Regions from separate parts of the Homo sapiens genome. Here region 2 is linked to region 1. The links are contacts of gene promoters, found by promoter capture Hi-C in human tissues and cell types (Jung and others, 2019). All regions are on one chromosome and are shown on one strand. The core of a region is centred on a gene start or on the middle of the fragment in contact, and the rest is flanking DNA. Distances in the headings are between cores, read along the strand shown. Region 1 holds the start of LAD1 (ladinin 1). Region 2 overlaps TMEM9 (transmembrane protein 9).

Region 1 (6,617 bases), core at 2,359-4,858:
GCCACTGCACTCCAGCCTGAGTGACAGAGTGAGACTCTGTCCATCTCGTATATAAAGAAACTGAGGCTCAAAAGAGTTAACAACCTTCCCACGATCGCACAGCTAATAAAAACAAGAAACCAAGATTTAAACCTAGGTCAGCCTCTCAAAAGCACCTACGCTTAACCATCATACCAAGTGCCAGAAAAGGTATGGCCAGGGAGGGCTGGCCCTAACCCAGAGGGAGCTCAACAGCTGAACCTTCAAGGGAGGGAACAGAGGCCCAAGAGGGCATCTGAAGGTGTGGTATTCCCTACCCCAGGACAGGCTGGGGCCCAGGGCAAAGCCTGGGAGCCTGGGAGGGCAGAGGTTTGGGGAAACCCCGTGGCCCATGCAACATTGACCTTCAAGCCCCAGAGCCAGGCCCAGGGTGAAACCTACAGGCCCGAACAGCTGCGGAGGCTCAGCTGCTCCTACTAGCTGAGGCCACAGCCCCAGGCAGCTGCCTACCACTCCTTCCCTCTAGACAACCCTTTCCCCCACCTCCTGGCCTTCATCTGGGGACACATGTCCCTCTCGGTGTCTCCATGTAATGCTGCTATCCTCCTCCCCACTCCAGACTTCAACTCCATCCTTTGGGGATGGGGATCCTCTTTTTCTCTTAAATAATTCTAAAGGACATTCTGCCGTTACTCACTAGAGAGCTTGTTTTGACCTCTACCCTGGGAACTTTCTTCCTGAAGTCTAACTTCCATCTATTCTGCAGCAACTGATGGCAGGGATTTAAGTGAAGTGGTTGTTAAAAGTCATATTTAGCAGTACAAGCCATTTTCCCAAATTGAATCATAGACAGAAGCCCATTATACAACAGATTAAGGCTCAGCTGCCCTGCTTAAAGCTGGGAGAGGGTGAGAAGGCTGCCCCAGATGCATTTTGTGGAACCCTGGGGCTCAAGGAGCATAATTTGCAAATCTTGGGGACTGGGGTTAGGGAAGGGAGGACAGAGGAGGGTTGGGGGATCATGCCCATGACCTTGGCCAGTCTCCTGCACCTGAGCAGGGCAGGCCTTAAGTTCCCCTTCTGCATGGTCACTGTGGGGGGTAACTCAGGTCTCTTCCAGCCCCAAAGGTCTAGGGAGAGGTGTCTGGAGAACCCAGGGCAGCGATTGGAAGTAGGAGGGCGGCTCAAGGCCCAGGCAGGGAAATGATTAACCACTGGCTGTTCAGTCCCAGGCACTCTCAGATCCACCCCTCACCCCCTGCAGACAGGCCTGGCCCAGCCTCACTGGTCACCAGGCCAGTCCGGGGAGAAAAGGACAAGGCCTCTGACCAGGGCACCCAGCCAGCCAGCTCACCACTGCCCCCCCAATCCCAGGGTTGGAAGACTTGAATCTCTGCTCCATGCCAAGGATGGGCTGCAGGCTGGCCCCCAGCTACCCACCCACCTCTCCATCCACCTCCCCACCTGGGACCGTGCTGTCACACCCTAGCACGGTCCTCCCCAGCCCAGGAGGCTCTGTTGACAGTGACTCACAGCCCTTTCCTGCCTGCCCGCTGAGGCTTGTTCACCCAGGGAGCGGAGCGGGAGCGGTCCTCTGTTCCAGGTGCCTCATCAGGGTGACTGTTGGCAGCAGCTGCGTCTGCCCACAGGGCTCTATGAGGGCTGGGACCCGGCAGGGAGGGCAGGCCAGGGGCCCCTGTGGCAGGACTGTTCCCCAGAGCTTCCTGGCACTTACCCTGGACATCTTGTGGGAACTTGGCTGTAGCCACATGAGTCCATGTCCATCTGAGCAGTGGACAAGCTTAGGCCAGACCTTGCTCCCATTTTCAAAGTTCCAGTGCCCCAGCTGCCTCCCCACACACACACACCCCCCCATGCATATCCAGGCATGCTTTCAGACACAAAATCACATATATCCCACCAGACTATGAACTTCTGAAGAAGGAGTGTCTGGTTTGTATTTTTAACCCAATGCACAGTACTGAGGTCTTCAATAAACAGTTCAACTGAACATATGCAGACTGACAAACTCAAGACTCAGCAACATAAGAACCAGCTCCCCACACAGATGTGTCATCTCTTCATAGGCCATAAACACACTTGTCCACAAGTATGCCACACACACACACACACATAAGCATACATTCATAGGCACAGGTAGGCCCACATCTAGAAGCAAAGACACTCCCACATCAACCCCCAGGCACACTGACCCACATGCAAAGTCCAAGACCTTGACTCCTCAGCCGCACCCTCAGCATAGACCTTCCTCTATAGCAGCCTGGGTTTCTTTTCCAGAGCACTGAGTTCCCTCCATTCGTGGGGCTTACCTTTTCCCCTCTCTAGAGCCCATGGGCTGCCCACAGTGCTTCAGAGCACTGTGAGGTCTTGAGGGTCTGGGGAGGTGGCCCCCCAGTCCCAGGCGATGAGCTGCTATGGAGAGGCTAAGCCTGAGACAATGAGGTAGTTCTGGAGCCCTTATTAAGGGAGGGCAGGAGCGGGGTAGAGGACATACTAGAGCACTGGAAAAACCTGTGAAAGATGCCTTGCTGGGGAAAGCCTACAGGACCCAAATGGCTGGAGGGTCTGCACCTGGCAGAGATAGCCCTGGCTCAGGAAAGGCCAAGACCCAAATGCCCACCTGGGAGGAGCTAAGAGGCTAATATCTACCTGGCTAGAAAGGGATCAAAAGAGCAGGCTCCAGCTCTGGGCTACCGCAGGAGCCTCAGTTTCCTTAGGGACAAGATGGGGGACGGGGGCGCCCAGTGGAGGAATGAGGTGAAAATGCTCACAGGGGGCCTTCTTGGCAGAGGTGCAGGGTCGCTCCAAGAGAAGTCGCTAGAGGTCACCAATCTCCATGAGGGGTGCTGCCTTCTGAACACCCGCCTTCCCCAGGCCTCTCGGACCCTGATGGGATGTCCAGCAGGCAGGGGTAGGATGCCTCATCCCCGACCCTTTAGGAGACCAGTGTACAAGTAAAGATTGCAGCAGCACAGATGGGGATGGCAACTATCTTAAGGTTCCCAGCCCAGATGCCACCCCAAAATGCCATGCTGAGATTCTGAGCGTCCTTAGTGGGAGACGGGTCTGCTTCCCTCCAGTCCTCTTCACTGACCCCTCCAAGACGGCTCTCCCTGCTCCCCCTCCCAAGAGGGGCTGTGGGACACCTCCCAGGGGTCCTCTCCGCCAGAGACACACGGGGGCAGTGAGAGAGGCTTCTCTCAGGAATGAGGCTTGGAGGTTACTCCTGAACACCTCCACAATCCCCCAAAACGTTCCTTCCTGCTTCCACCTTCCACAGGGGGGGCCATATCCCAGCGGGCGTCCAGACTGAGGACCAGCCTTCCCCTAAGCACCCTGTGTGGGGCCTCAGGCCCCGAGGGGAGAAGACCCACCCTGTAACCTCAGGGGTCCCGAGTTTGGCCCCAATCCTGTCTCCCGCGAGTCGCAGCAAGACCAGGATCCAGCCTCAGTGTCAGGGTCCCAGGCGGGGAGGAGGCCGGTGCCCCGAGGAGAGGAGACCCAAAGGCTCCCCGCCGACCCCCCGCCCCTCCCGGCTCCCTCCGGCGCTCACCTGGACAGCGCGGACCAGTCCTTCCTGCTGACAGCCATGCTGCAGGAGCCCCGCGTGGCCGCCCGCGCCCCGCCGGCCGCCGCCTCACCTGGCGCCCCTCCCCTTCCAGCCCAGGTGGGATCACATGGCCGCTTATCTCACCCCCGCGCGCCCCGGCCGCGCTCCGATTTGCCGACCCGGGAATGGCCTCTGGGATGTGGGCGTCCCAGACAAAGCCGCATTGATTGCAGCCCAGGCCGGCCCGGCCGCGAGGCCGCAAGCACTGGGTGGACCGTCGGACGGATCGCGGGACCGAACGACGGACGCCCGGGGCCGGCGTGGGGCTGGTCGGCTGCCCGGGGCGAGGGCGGGAGACTTCCTGCTCAGAACCAGTCCGACCAGCTTGGCGCTGGGACGCCTCCCCGCGCTGTGCCGCGGCCCGGGGTGCCGAGGAGCTGGGCTGGGGGCGGGGACCCCTGCCGGGAACCCGACTTAGCCCGGAGACGCTCAAGAGCAAGAAGCCGAGCGGAAAAGTTAGCGCAGGTACTGTGATCTCGGGTCTAGAGCGCCCGCGCCTTCGGGGCCCCTTCGCAGGGAGCGCCCTCCCCACTCCCTGGCTTCGGAACCCACCCGGGCCCACCGTCCCAGTAGGCCTCGCTGAGATGAATGAGGCATTGCTTTCTGAGCTGCACACAAAACATGCCCCTGGTAGACCCAGCCCCACCCAAAGGGAGAATCTTAGACTCAATTCAGCAAACATTTGTGAAAGCACAAATATGTCAAAGGCACTGTCCTTGCTCCCTGATACTGGACTTTGGGCTAGAGTGGCAGGGTGTATAATAAGGGCAGAGGAAGCTCAGTTTTTCTTCCCCAAGGAAAGATTAAACACAGATATCTAGGACTCGAATTTTGGAGCACCGTGAGACAGCTCAGGCACCCCTGACACCACCTGGCTCCCTTTAGGTGCCCATCTGGGCTGGTGCGGGGCCAGGTGCTTTCTATCCAGGAACCAGCCTCAGGTGGGCTTGGGCTAAGAGAGGGTCAGGCGTTGAGCATGGGGAATCTTATCTTCCCTGATGGATCTGAACTGCAGGGTCAGCGCACAGTTGCTGTTCCTGCCCTGAGAGGAAGGAGGCACAGCCCCAGCGCCAGGATGAGAATATCAAAAGGGAGCCTGAGCCAGAGCCAGAACTGCCCTCATGCTCCTGGGCCTCGCTGCCCAGCCTCAGCCTCTCTTTGGTGCTCATGTCAGGCCTTCCAGCTCTGAGATCTCACGGCAAAGGGCAAGCTAGCTGCCGGGCAGAAGCCTGGAAACACAGACACAGCCAGCCTGTTGAGATTCCCCCTCCCGAAGTACCCCCTCCTCCAGGGAGCCTTCCTTCTTGGCAAGGGTGGGACGAGGTCCAGGACATGAGAACTGGACTGGTAACTTGCACACTTGAGCTCTGATTCTGACATTTGTGAACTGTGTGACTTGGGACAAACTCCTTCAGTTTCCTTATCTGTGGAGTGGATGTTACGATACCTTGCTCTGCTTCCTTCCAGGTTGTGGAAATCATATGAGTTCCCTGCTAGTGACATTGGAGTGCACAGATGAATATCGACAAGGCTCCAGGGAGTTCTGAACAGAGGCCAAGGCAGGCCCTGGAGCTGTATGCTGCTTACAGGAAAAGAGAAAGAGGGGACCCCAATAGTCTAGGTCCCTGGATCCTCTGACCCGGGGCCTGACACTGTCAGGGAAGCTGCTGTCTCCCTAGGGACCTACTGAATGTTCTTCCCATGGCTGGTCAGTGCTGACACCTCAACACAGGAAGAGAAATACTCCTATGAAGTCATCTGAAGCCTGGTCATGCCAGGGACACTTCACGAAGGCAGGAACAGTCCTGTTTCTAAAAGCCCAAAATCTAACAGCCTCTCTACAGATATAAAAGCCCAAAGACATGGAAAGTTTGTATGCAGACAACCCTAGAAGTAAGGAAAAGTGAATGACATATATGTCAATGCCCAGAAAGTTCCTTGAGATCAGACACTGTACATTTATGGGATACTTTCTAAGTGCCAGCTACTGTACTTGGTGCTGGATCAGTGCATCCATTTCCCGGGGCTCCCGTGATGAAGTGCCACAAACTGGATGGCTTTAAACAACAGAAGTTTACTCTCTCACAGTTCTGAAGGTTAGAAGTCTGCCATGAAGATGTGAGCACAGCCAGCCTCTCTCCAAAGGCTCCAGAGGAGAATCCTTCCTTGCTTCTTCCCAGAGCTCCTTGGCATACAGCTGCATTACTCCAAGATTTGCCTCTCTTGTCACACAGCATTCTGCCTGTGTCTCTTGTTTGTGTTCAAGTATCCCTCCACCCTAATTTAGTATGACCTCATTTTAGCTTGATTATGCCTGCAAATACCCTATTTCCAAATGAGGTCACATTCACAGGTACCAGAAGTTATGAATTGAACACATCTTTTTTGGGATGTGTTCTACCCATTATAATTCATTCTACCCACTATAATCACAAGTGGCTTTGACATTCAGTGACACAAAGATGATAAGGACTCGGTTCCTGACCTCAGGACATTCTCAGTCTATCAGTGAAGACAAACACATGCTGGTGAACACACACACATACACAAGCACACATATACCCCGAGCCTCATTCAAGTCAGACTGTGATTAAAAATGGAAATTGTGTCATCAGGAGGGATTGGGGAAGTCTTCACACAAGAAAGAACATCTAAGTTGGGCCTTGAAGGGTAAGTGGAATTCAACTGTCAGAAAGGGTGTAAGGGCATCCAGCTATAGGACACAGCATAAACAAAGACATTGGGACATAAACATGAAAGGTGTGTGTGGAACAGAGAGAAGACTAGTCTGCGTGAAGCATTGAGCCCCTTCCAAGGCTGAAAAGAAAGGTTGGAGACAGGTAGTAAGGACTTTGTGTGTTGTGCTAAAGAGTCAGTCAGCCTTGGCCGGTTATGGAGACTCACACGTGTAATCCCAGCATTTTAGGAGGCTGAGGCGGGCAGATCACTTGAGGTCAGGAGTTCAAGACCAGCCTGGGCAACATGGCAAAACCCCATCTCTACTAAA
Region 2 (6,710 bases), core at 2,074-4,573, 250 kb before region 1:
ACAGAGCTCAGAGTGGAAGCAGCAGCCAACCCCGCCTGCCTTGGCTCCACGCCTCTAAGCAGCCCGCTCTGCTGTCTCATGCACCCAGCTAGCTGGTACATGAGCGCATAAAGGGGGAGCCCGAGGCACACGGGGCTGTGCAGTCCTCACTCAGGCAAGATTCCCCTAGACCACCTGGGGAGTGCAGGGCTCATCACAACTCTGCTCAGCATGGAGGTACACCACGTCTCACTCCCACGAAGAGCCCTTCACCTGAGCCCTCCTGTCCCCCCGGGTTTCCTCGCCATGGTGTCCACAACTTTTTAGTATGAGGATGAATGGGAAGACGGTGACAGCGCTTGTTAACTGCACTGGGCCTGGTCCAAGCCCTGCCAGCTCCCCACCATTGCATGAACTCCTGGAGGCCTTGCAGGCTGTCTGGGGTCAGTGGTTCCCCACTTTCCTTGTCAGATAAAGCCAAACCCCCTTAGCTTGACATTTGGGACTTTTAATAATGTGACCTAAATCTACTGGCCAGCTCTCTTTGCCACTATTCAAACATCTCTACCCTATCCTTGCAACGCTCAAAATTCCTCACACATACTTGGCAATGTCCCCTGCCCGGCACCACTGTCTCATTCCTCTTCCGCTCTTGAAATCCTACATTTCTCCCCAGACCCTGGAGCTCTGGTTTGCATTGAGCAAGTGTTCAACAGATGTTTGTGGAATCACTGGACAAACAAATTAACCTGCTGCCGTCCAGTCCACCAGCAGCTTGTCACCAATGTCTGAGCACACGGGGGATATCATGTGTATCTATGTGTGACTGGCTCTGGCTGGCTGCGCCCCCTCTGCCTGGAAGCACAGTACAGCAGGATGACATGGCTCCCCCGGCTTGTACATGGAGACTGCTTGATGCCCGGTGTCCTGCTTCATCTGGAAGGGCAAAGAGCAGGTCCCTGCTGAGTCTGGGTGATGTGTACGACACTGACCAGAAGAGCAACTTGAAGCATTTTGGGGAGGTGGGACCTGGACCTAGGTGACGCTCCTCTGGGTTTTGCCCTGGGGACGCACATGCAGGGACCCAGGGCCTGGGCACTCAAAGCCCTCTTACCTCATTCTCCTCCTCATTGTGCAGTTGCTCAGTATATGCATCCGGCTTTCGGATCAGAGGGTCCACCAGCATCAGGAAGGCCATGTAGAGCAACAGGGCACCCACCACGGACAGGTAGATGACAATGATGACCTGAGGAAGAGACCGGCGTGCCTATGAACCATTATCTGAGGCCAGGGCTAGAAATCCGTTGCTAGTCTTGGGCCATCTGTGTCCGGCTGGCAGTGACTCCTCAAGTGGTGCACTAAGAAAGGACTTGGAGGCAACGTGGGCTCAGAGGGAAAGCATGCCCAGAAAGGAAAGGGAGGGCCCTACTCCACAGAGGAAGCACTCTGTCCTAACTTGAGGGAGTCTGCACAGCAGGCATCACGACAGCAGGCAGATGACAGAGGAAGAAGTCTGGAGCCTGATGCCGAGAGGCTCCCGGGGTAGAGATGGGAACACAAGGGCCTCCCTGGCTGTAGAAGAGTTCATGATGAAGGGTGGAAAGCAATCAGAAACTAAGAGCAAGGAAGAACAGGCTGTGGAGAGGCTGGAAAGCTGGGGCCAGGAAAAGTAAACCTGGGCTGGTGGGCTCATTGCTCCTGTGGAGAGCAAGACGGATGGGGCGCGCTGGCCCACTCATGGCATGCCCCTGAGCAGAGTGGCTAGGGCTGGTAAGAAGGTGTGTGCTGGGGGTGAAGGTCACGCCTGCCCTCCCATCAGCCCCTCTGCAGGGAGGGGAAAGCCAAGGGTAGAACAACAACTCCACGAATCTCTTACATACACAGTGCTTCACAAGCTGGAGTCATTTTGTTTTTACAGAAAAGACAGATTTAATGAGGCAAATTCAATGTTTCTCAATGTGGGTGCTCTGGGATTTTGGGTGGGACATTTAGCATCCATGGTCCCTGTAACAGTGTTGGTAATACACCTGTTATTGGGACCACAAAAGCACCTTCACCCACCTCTAAATGCCCCCTGGGGGGGCTGTAATCATCTGATTGAGAACTGCTGGGCTAGATCACCTGTGATCCCAAGGCTACCAGATGGTGGAGGTGTGACTCAAACCCAGACTTGCTGACTCCCTCTCAAATGCTTTTCCTAATTCCACAATGCCTGGCCATTGCCGGCTTCTGATCTCAGCCCTGCCCTACCTAGACTGTGAAGAAGAGTGAAAAAAAGAACCTCAGGACTTTCAAGCTGGGTGCCCCGCTCAGCCAATAGCCAAGTTCCACTGGACCAATGTCCCACCTGATTGGGGCACCGCGTTCACGCCTGTTTAAACAGGGCAAATAATCAGACCTCACCTGTACCCCAGGAAGGCGGAAGGAGAACAGAGGCTGGGTCTTCAATAGGCTGAAGTTGAGGGGAGCCTCCTAGGTAGGAGGACTGGGGGAAACACGAGGGATTAGGAAGTTGTATCTGATGAGGTCCCCATGCCAGGAAGTTCCCTCCCGGCCAAACAGGGAGCAGCGGTGACATCTGGCTCTGAATTTCAGGTCTCAGGCATCTGGTCCCTGGAGGGTGAGGCCCACTGGAGCAAGTTCAGAGAAGGAGAATGACAGTTGCAGGAGGGGCTGCCTCAGGTGGATGAAAGGAGTTGGGTCTGCACAGGGCACTGGCTGGGAGTGAAGGACAGACAGCTGCTTTTTCCCTGAGTGGTGAGAACACAGAGGAGCTACAGCACAGGGCTCCCTGGAATAGGCAGGAAGGACAGCAGTGAAGACCACCGCCCCCTAAATGTGCCTCGAAAGGAGAAACCTGATGGAGGACCCAGCAGTGCCTTTAAATATGAGAATTATTTTCCAATGCTATTTATAGACTCTTCAAAGGACAAGCAGAAAAATGCTACAAACTGGAACAGAAAGGGCTACATTAGGCCAGGCATGGAGCTCACACCTATAATCCCAGCACTTCGGGAAGCCAAGGCTGGAGCAGTGCTTGAGGCCAGGAGTTCGAGACAAGCCTGGGCAAGACAGTGAGACCCTGTCTCTACCAAAAATTTAAAAAATTAGCTGGGTGTGGTGATGTGCACCTGTGGTCCTAGCTAATCAGGAGGCTGAGGTGGGAGGGTTGCATGGGCCTGGGAGGTCAGAGCTGCAGTGAGCTGTGATCGTGCCACTGGACTACAGCATAGGCAACAGAGTCAGACCCAGTCTCTAAAAAACAAACAAAAAAAGAAATGGCTATGTAATCAGTGAGTACTGTGTGTGCCAGGTGCCTGGCCCAGGATTGTTAGAACCTGGACTAGGAAGCCGCACTGGGGGGCTGGGGGTCATGACGGTCTCTGCTAGGGCGGCTTCACAGCCTCTAGAAGACACGGGAAGTTCTGCCTGGTGCAGGAATGAACAGACACCTCGTGACGTCTATGGTGGTGACTGTGTCTATCATCTCTTTCCTGAATTCACCCAAATGATCAATGAGAAGGTGGTTCAGGAAAACACAAAAGAACCAATCTGATGTTCTCCCAGCACCCAACACCCAGCCCTAGTCCACAGCTCTGATGCTTTTTAGAGGAGCTTAGTCACTTTGGAAGCTTAATTAGACTAAGCTCCAGGAGGGCAGCCCAACCTCCCCATTGGCAGCATCTTGCCCAGAATATAGCAGGCACCGAAAAGAGATTTACTGGATGAATAGAAGAAGGGAGAGGAACGAAATAAACTGTAAAGAATGCAGGGAAAAAGGAGTCTCCAGCAGCTCTCCCAGGGCTCTCCCCTCTCACTGTAATGGTAACTACTGGAAAGAGAGCAGAGAAGGGAGCTGGCTCCAGGAAGGTGTGGGATGTGGGTCCCAGTGTCTGCACTAGGCCAGCCTAGAAGCCAGTCTCATAGCCATTGGGACATTCCAGAATAAAGTGAAAAACTGTGGGTGTAGGCCAGTCTGCGATTGGAGAATGGCGTGTGGGAATCCCACTGGCTTCCTGAGACCCTGGCGTTACCTTGATGGTGGTGGTGCTGCGCTCCTCGTACCTGCACTCGCACAGCAGGCAGTAGGCCTCCACGTCATGGCCAGGCACTGGCATGGGCTCCACCACGTGCAGGCAGTTGCTACAACAGAGAGAGACAGGGCTGTCGAGGCAGGGCCACCACGTCTTAGAGCCTCAAGACCAGAGAAGCAGGTAGCCAGGGGAGCTGAGAGGTAGGGGCTAGGCAAAGGTGAAGGGTGCTCCCAGAGAGGGCCAAGGGCTTATAAAGGATTAGGCTGGCAGAAACCCTTCCTAACCCACAGCCTCACAGCCCATGCCCCTTACACATCAAAACCAGCTCTCCAAACTGCCTACAGGGCTGGCTCCAAAACCATCAACGTTCCCAGGGTTCTACCCCCAGCCGCCTTCCTCATCTCATGCTATGTTCTCCCGGCATGTGCTCATCTGTCCCAAAGGTTCAACTCAGAAGCTGACGGATCTTAGATCAGAATCTCCAGCCAGGGCCGCTCTCCTCTATGAGCTACAGGAGTCACTATGTGCATGTCCCATAGAGACCATGAACTCTACACCCGCCCCTGCACACCCTTTGCCCTCAACTCCCTACTCCTGCAAACTGGCTCCCCATTTGCAATGGCAGAGAGAACACTTCTACCGTCCACTTCACTGTCCGGGTCAAACCCTGGAAATCATCTTTGACACTGCCTTCCTCTCATCTAAGTAAAATCACCAAAGGCCAGTGATTTTACTTCCCTAAAAATTCCTAGAATCCATCTCCTTTATTCTCTCCCACTGCTGTGTCTTAGCTGAGGCCCTCATCCTATCTTCCTCGGACAACCGCACCAGCCTCCGCGCTGCCCTCCTGCCTCGAGTTTGGCCTTTCTAACACATACTACCTTCCCACGGCAGCCAAGTGGTTTTCCAGAATGCAACTCTGGTCATGTCATTCCCCAGCTTAGGCCCGGTCAGTGCCTCCACAGAGCCCCTAGGGCCAATGCTAACTCAATTGCTCTGCCAGGGGTCCCAACCCACCTCACTCCAGTTCCATCTCTTGCTACGCCTCCCTCACCCACTTTCCCAACCTCCAGCCACACGGATCTGCCAGGCTGCTCTCTGAAGGAGCCACACCCACACTCTCACCAGGAGGGCATGGCTTTGCCACCTCATCTTTTAACTCTCAGCTTAGCCACCTGTGCCCAATAGCCAGCTCCCCCCAACCCCCCGCCAATGCACTGCATTGTAATCCAATCTTTATTCGTGCTGTCTCCCCAGGAGATGTACGTTCCTTGAACACAGGGTTATGTCTTATACATCTCCATATTCCCAGTACCTAGCTGGGTGCTGGCCAGAGCAGGCTTAGTAACTACATGATTCCCAAAGGAAGAGTAGACCCACTTTCATCTAACAGCACTCTTGCGTAAGGTGGGATAAAGATCATAGGTTCCACATCTAAAAACAGGGAAAGAGGCTTAGGAGGCAAAGTGGCATCTCCATAGTGGTAGTGAGGCCAGAACCCAAATCTAGACCCTCAGCCACAGGTCTTTACTTCTGACTCAGCCTCAGTGGGGCCTGGGCTGGTACCTGGCTTGTCTCAGGCCTCTCATTCCCAGCCTTCCTCAGATCAGCATGGTTCCAACCTGTTTGGTTCAGGGACCACACTGACAAAGCAAAAAACTCTACAGAATGCACCTTCATTACTACCAATGGAAAAATCCAAACCCCTTGGAGGTGTGCAGAGGTGAAGCAGGTGTCATGCTGCAATGCACCTGGGCTCTGTCCTGGCTCTGCCACCAAGTGTCTATACCCTGGGCCCGTTCTCTTCTCTTTGAGATAAAGCGGTTGCACCGGATAATCTTTAAAAGGCCCTTCCAGCTCTGACAGGAGTCCTGCAAGAGTCAAGCATAGCTCCCTTCTGAGCTACAGGGCTGGGTTTCTGGCAGAAGCATCAAGGGTGTGTGATATAAAGACCATGTGTTGGATTAAGAATGGGATGTGCTCTAAAGGACTCTGTTCTCCCAAAAAGCCATATGTGGCATACATGAGTTTATCTAAACCTTTCATGATCCAGTTCCACCTCTGTGTCCAACATGTTATTCCCTGCTCTGAGCAGGTCTCCCCTGTTGTAACCGGAAGTACTGCTTTCAGGCCTTGCATGCTGCTTCCGCTGGGAGCAGCGGAAAAAGGGTCACCCAGGGCACTTGGCTGCCATTCCTGTCCAGAGGCAATGCCATCTTCCCTTCTCCAGGAAGTCTCTACAAGCCTCCAGATTCCTCCCTTACCTGAGCTACACTGGGTCCTGGGTCTAGAAGGTCATACCAGTATTGCAGTGGAATCTATGGATTTCTCACAAGGCCAAGGTGTCAGGGGCAGTTTGGAAGGGCGACCTGAGTTCTTCAATGTGGGATCTTGCTACCCAGGGGAACAGCAATAAGGAGCTGAAATAGTTCTGCTGTCTCCAACTCTCCTGTGATTGGGGGCAATTTATTTAACTTCTCCAGGCCTCGGTTCCCTCATTTATAAATGGAGACTGAACTTGGTCAGTGTCTTTCAAACTGTACTCTTTTGGGACCCACAGGAACCACTGTACGGTGGGGTGGTAGTCAGGGAGGGGCTGAGGGACAGTTCCCTCTCAGGCAGAGCAATTCCGACTTTTATGTTTTATAGATTTTGTTTCCAAAACGGATTTTGTTTGCAGAGAAGTTCTATTTTAAC

What was found. The method cuts DNA at HindIII sites, captures the fragments that hold promoters and counts their contacts. A contact is called where the count stands out against the background at its distance.
Region 2: a fragment that was not itself captured here is called in contact with the fragment with the promoter of LAD1 in region 1 in 1 of the 25 tissues and cell types used here (IMR-90 fibroblasts).

The regions. Positions count from the first base shown.
Region 1 is chr1:201,395,716-201,402,332 of GRCh38, forward strand. It overlaps LAD1 (ladinin 1), which reads right to left and starts at 3,609. Exons shown (of 10, transcript NM_005558.4): 1 at 3,554-3,609. The coding sequence starts at 3,591. LOC101929343 (a long non-coding RNA gene) reads left to right here and starts at 3,776. Exons shown (of 2, transcript XR_241172.3): 1 at 3,776-4,075; 2 at 5,078-6,617. RefSeq lists an enhancer at 3,305-3,967. The HindIII fragment of the contact is 11,842 bases long and covers 565-6,617 here.
Region 2 is chr1:201,142,727-201,149,436 of GRCh38, forward strand. It overlaps TMEM9 (transmembrane protein 9), which reads right to left. Exons shown (of 5, transcript NM_001288565.2): 3 at 4,014-4,122; 4 at 1,094-1,225. Among named protein-coding and RNA genes, the nearest start is that of TMEM9, 8.4 kb to the right of the region's middle. The HindIII fragment of the contact is 5,250 bases long and covers 699-5,948 here.